Linked DNA regions of Homo sapiens: region 1 is linked to region 2. The links are contacts of gene promoters, found by promoter capture Hi-C in human tissues and cell types (Jung and others, 2019). All regions are on one chromosome and are shown on one strand. The core of a region is centred on a gene start or on the middle of the fragment in contact, and the rest is flanking DNA. Distances in the headings are between cores, read along the strand shown.

Evidence for each region. Contacts are between HindIII fragments. The study calls those that stand out against the background at their distance.
Region 1: a fragment that was not itself captured here is called in contact with the fragment with the promoter of UTF1 in region 2 in 2 of the 25 tissues and cell types used here (dorsolateral prefrontal cortex and spleen).

The regions. Positions count from the first base shown.
Region 1 is chr10:132,832,166-132,834,865 of GRCh38, forward strand. It overlaps CFAP46 (cilia and flagella associated protein 46), which reads right to left. Exons shown (of 58, transcript NM_001200049.3): 48 at 2,489-2,610; 49 at 1,876-1,958; 50 at 1,193-1,360. Among named protein-coding and RNA genes, the nearest start is that of NKX6-2, 47 kb to the left of the region's middle. The HindIII fragment of the contact is 6,011 bases long and covers 1-2,700 here.
Region 2 is chr10:133,228,939-133,231,638 of GRCh38, forward strand. It overlaps UTF1 (undifferentiated embryonic cell transcription factor 1), which reads left to right and starts at 1,279. Exons shown (of 2, transcript NM_003577.3): 1 at 1,279-1,900; 2 at 2,029-2,620. The coding sequence starts at 1,351. The coding sequence ends at 2,504. RefSeq lists an enhancer at 1,261-2,060. The HindIII fragment of the contact is 26,740 bases long and covers 1-2,700 here.

The DNA of each region.
Region 1 (2,700 bases), core at 184-2,683, 400 kb before region 2:
TTTAAGTATTTATCCGTGTTTTCACTATTTTCAGAGCTGTCTGTTTCCCTGGACTCGCACACAGGTGGTGGCTGTCTTCCTGCTGAGGGCTCTGCAGATCTCGGAGTGGCCGTTCCTTGCAGCTCTCTCCTTCCAGGTGTCCCGCCCTGCACGTTGTAGTTGTCAGTTTCCCAGACTCCAAACTGTCTGTCCTCAACTTGCGGAGACCCCTGGGCTCTTCCTGCCCCCCCCCCCCAATGCTGTGGCCTGGAAATTCCCCAGAGAGTAAGACCTGGGTGGGCCATGGCGCTCGCCAGCCAAACCCCCTTCGAGGCCCCCCGTCCTGCGCGGACTGCTCGTCAATGTTTGAAAACCCTCATTTCATGTGCTTTTCTCTGGTTTTTATTTGTCTCAGCTGGAAGAACGAATCTGGTCCCTGTTACTTCATCTGAGATGGAAGCAAAAGTCCAATCGATTTATTTTTAATTTTATTTGATACCGAAGTGCAGAAAACTGCACGTACCGCAAGGGTAGCGCTCGGGGAAGCTTCACAACCGGGGCACGTCTGCACAGCCAGCACTCAGTCACAGAATGTCATCACCCCCGAATCCCAGCCGAGGTCAGGGCCTTCCGCGCGCTCCCTCGTGCTTTTCACTGTCTGAGTGATTAACGGAGAGGCTGGCTGTTTACTACACATCTGGTCCCCTCCTTTGAAACAGGTATTTGTGGGGGCAAGAACAGCGTTAAGTTTGTCTTCCCTGTGTGTTTAGCACCAGGATACTGGCACATAGCAGGTATTTTATAAATAGTTTTGAGTGTTTATATATATACATATATATTTTATTTTTGACAGGGTCTCACTCTGTTGCCCAGGCTGGAGTGCAGTGGCGCCATCTCAGCTCCCCAAAGCCTCAGTCTCCCAGGCTCAAACCATCCTCCCACCTCCCAGCCTCCTGAGTAGCCAGGACCACAGGTGCACACCACCATGCCCAGCTAATTTTAAACTTTCTTGTAGAGATGCACTCTCACCATGTTGCCCAGGCTGGTGAGTATTTATATCCTACAAATATCTTTGAATGAATAAATGCCTAGAAAAATGTTGCAACATTTGATGATTATTTCTTGATAGGAGCTAACATTGTTTCATCTGAAAAATAATTTAAATATTTCCATTTTAAAATTACACATTAAGGTGGCTGAGGGCAGTTCCTACCTGTCTCTTCTTTATGGAGGCGATTCCACAGCATTTGAAGAGAAAATTCTCGTGACACAGAGGAAATTGTCCCTTCATCGAACACAGAGAGACCTTCCAGTGGCAGCTCCAGGAGATGTCTGTCTGCGACCAGGACTATCTTATCGGCAACCTCAGGCTGGACTGTGCCTGGGAAACAGCAGTGCAGGGAGATCAGCTCCTGAAGACGGGACCCCTCCCACGGGGTCGCAGGGCTCCGTCTTCTGACTTGGCTGCTGGGCGCTGGGAAAGGCTGGCAGCCCGCCTTGACTCCATGCCACCTCCTCCTCCAGATGCCCCAGAACGGGGCGAGGAACAGCCTCCCATCACGCCTGTCCCTCCACACGATTCTTTTTGTTAGCAAGCACGTGTGGTGTGGCGGGGCTGACAATCCACCCACGCGAAGGTGGCTGTGCTGGGTTCCGTGGTGCTCTCAGGAGGCTTGGCACAGAGCCTCCTACCCAGAGGGCTGGTCCAGGGCTGTGCAGAGAACCTTCCGGGGACCTCAGGCGCAGGGAGGCCTCAGGGGAAGGAGCAGCAGGGCTTGTGGGACTCCTGGGTTCCTGACCCCCCCTGGCGTTCCCGGATGGGTGGGTGGATCCCAACCCCACCTCTTCTGGCGGGATGAGCTCCCCAGGCTGAGTGGCCACGCCCGCCCCACTCACTGTGTTGTCCTGTGGACGTTTTCCTCTCCTTGTCTTTGCCCTTCGACTTCCCTGAATCGGCAACAACCGCAGGTGTCTGCACTCTGAAAGTCAGGTTATATATTCGGGTTTAAGAAACAGAGATAACAAACGCTTGGAATATAGGCGACACCTGCTCAGCCTGTTTCACTCTAAGGCAGCAGCACCACGAATCCCCACGCTCACTTCTGGGGATGGTCCCACTGAGGTGGGGCCGGGATGAGCCACAGGATTTTGGGATCATCTCTGATCCACCAGCCAAGCTAAACGGTGCCAGGTGTCCGTCCCCTCTGCCTTCCTTCCCACCCCAAATCAAAGCAGCCCGGGCGGTCCCTTGGAGGTGCTTGCCCTCCCACCCCACACTTGGGCCAGGGGCTGGAGGGACCGTGGGCAGTGGGCAGTGGGCAGTACTCCTCCAGGCAGGAATGGAGGCAGAACCAGAAGAATTGCTTCCTGGGAGCAGGCAGGCGGCGCCGAGTCCTGAACAAAGGCGGCCGAGAAGGCACAGCAAGCACACGTGGTTGGCCACAGCACTGGACACACGTGTCCATGCGTGAGCGTGGTGGGGTGCCAGCCTCAACGTCATCCCCAGTACCTGGCCTTGGAGAGGCTGAGCAGGGGGAATAGCGGCTGCAGAAGCTCCTCCAGGGGCCCCAGGACGCTACTGAGCCTCTGCACAGGGCGCTCCTTCTCTTCCACCTGCAGGCCTTCTGGTTCCTACCGCAATCCAAAAAAGAGGCCCCCGTAGCAAACAGGGCGCATGGCCCAGACCCCGCGAGGGCCAGGCCCCTGCAGAAAGGCCGAGCT
Region 2 (2,700 bases), core at 29-2,528:
CATGTAGTCCCAGCTACCAAGGAAGCTGAGGCTGGAGGATCACTTGGGCCCAAGAGTTCAAGGCTACAGTGAGCTGTGATCAGGCCACTGCACTCCAGCCTGAGTGACAGAAAGAGACCCCATTTGTAAAAAATAATAAAAACAAACAGAACTTTTAAAACAAATAAATAATAACAGCATCGGGTTATGACCTAAAGGATAAAATAAATATACACGAGCCCACACTGTAGAAATAAATGACTGAGTAAATAAATCAACAGGCAGAGAGACAAACCTTACAGAAGAATCCCAGAAAATACAGACACCCCTCCAGGAGGTGGGGCCTAATTACTCTCCCCATGAGTTGGGGATGGGCTGAGGGGCCGGATTCCAGTGACCAGAGCAGGGATGGAAAGGCGATACCTGAAGACTGCAAGAGTGGCAGACAGTCCGCACCCCAGCACGGAGCAGACCTCACCGGTGCTGAGCCACAAGACAGGAGGGGCGAGACTCCACCCCTGCGCCTTCCTTCCTAAAACCCACCACCCTAGTCGGATCACAGGAAGACACCAGGCAAACCCAAGTCGAGGAACATTCAACAAAACACCTGGCCCGTCCTCAACCGTGTCGAGGACGCGAGAAGCTGCCACGGCCCAGAGGAGACCCAGGAGACAGAAGGACTCGGCGCCGTGCGGCAAGGAGGAAGAGCATTTAATAGGAAGAGAATTTCCTCCTCCCAGGGATGCTGGCTGCAGACGCGCTGCAGATGGAAGAAGTTCAGATTTTAAAAGCTACTTCTGCGAGCGCGTGAATTCCGACACCCATTCCCGCGGCTGGCGTGGCTTCTCCTCGGACCCATCCCCTGGCCTGGCGACTCCCCCTGGGACCCGGGTCGGTCCTCCGGACCCCTCGCGTGCAGGTGCTGAGCCCGGGCGGGGGCGGCGGGGGCGGGGGCAGCACTGGGGGCCGGACAAGGGGGCGCCAGCGCCTTCCGGAGCGGGAGGGGCTCCGCACACACCTCGACGGGGGCGGGGGTAGGCTCGGCACAGGCTAAAAACGAGCGGAGCCGCCGGGGCTTAGGCATCGCGGCACCTCCGTTGAACGGGTCTAAGAACAGAACTCCTGAGGACCCTCCGTTTCCAACCGAAGCCAGTCTTTGCTCTGCGTCTTCCCGGCCGCAGCGCCAGGACCGACCCCTTAGGACCCGGCGGGCGGGGCGGGGCGCGCGGGGCGGGGCGGGGATGGTGGGAGGGTCGCGTAGACCCGGCTGGGACGGAGGGACGGCGGCGCGGGATGCTCAGAACGCGTGTGGGCGGCCCGGGCGGCGTCTGGCCCTCTCCCCATCCTCGCGCGCCGCGCCCCAGCCCCGGGATGCTGCTCCGGCCCCGCAGGCCGCCCCCGCTCGCGCCCCCCGCGCCGCCCTCGCCCGCCAGCCCCGACCCCGAGCCGCGGACACCCGGAGACGCCCCGGGGACCCCGCCCCGGAGGCCCGCCTCGCCCAGCGCGCTGGGGGAACTCGGGTTGCCGGTGTCCCCGGGCTCGGCGCAGCGCACGCCCTGGAGCGCCCGGGAGACGGAGCTGCTGCTGGGGACGCTGCTGCAACCGGCCGTGTGGCGCGCGCTGCTCCTGGACCGCCGCCAGGCCCTGCCCACCTACCGCCGCGTGTCGGCCGCGCTGGCCCAGCAGCAGGTGCGCCGCACCCCCGCGCAGTGCCGCCGCCGCTACAAGTTCCTTAAAGACAAGTTTCGCGAGGCGCACGGCCAGCCGCCCGGGCCCTTCGACGAGCAGATCCGGAAGCTCATGGGGCTGCTGGGCGACAACGGGCGCAAACGGCCTCGCCGCCGCTCCCCGGGGTCCGGGCGCCCCCAGCGCGCCCGCCGCCCGGTCCCCAACGCGCACGCGCCGGCTCCCAGCGAACCAGGTAGGCGGGGGACTGGGGGGCCAGGTGGGGCCGAGGACTGCGGAGGAACCGGGGGCTGCCGAGGGCTGCGGGGGAGGGGCGGGCGCGCCCCGCGAAAATCCGCCCGACCGCCTGCTCCGCGTTCCCAGACGCCACCCCGCTGCCCACCGCCCGCGACCGCGACGCGGACCCCACCTGGACGCTCCGCTTCAGCCCGTCCCCACCGAAGTCTGCGGACGCCTCCCCCGCCCCCGGCTCCCCGCCAGCTCCCGCCCCGACCGCCCTCGCCACCTGCATCCCCGAGGACCGCGCGCCCGTCCGCGGCCCCGGGTCCCCGCCGCCACCCCCGGCCCGCGAAGACCCCGACTCGCCGCCCGGCCGCCCCGAGGACTGCGCGCCCCCTCCGGCCGCGCCCCCGTCGCTGAACACCGCCCTGCTGCAGACCCTGGGGCACCTGGGCGACATCGCGAACATCCTGGGCCCGCTGCGCGACCAGCTGCTGACCTTGAACCAGCACGTGGAGCAGCTGCGCGGCGCCTTCGACCAGACAGTGTCCCTGGCCGTGGGCTTCATTCTGGGCAGCGCGGCCGCCGAGCGAGGGGTCCTCAGGGACCCGTGCCAGTGAGTCCCGGCTGCGGCCAGTCTCCCCTCTCCAGGCCGAGGCCCCTCCGCCCTGACCCCTCCTGCTGCCTTCCCACCCCCGTTCTTGGGTATGTTCAATAAAAGGATTGTTTTCCTAGAGTCCGGGCTGTGTAGGAGTGCGGGTCTGGAGACGGGGAGGGAGTGGCGCCCTGCAGTGCTGGGGCTGCAAAGGTCAGGGC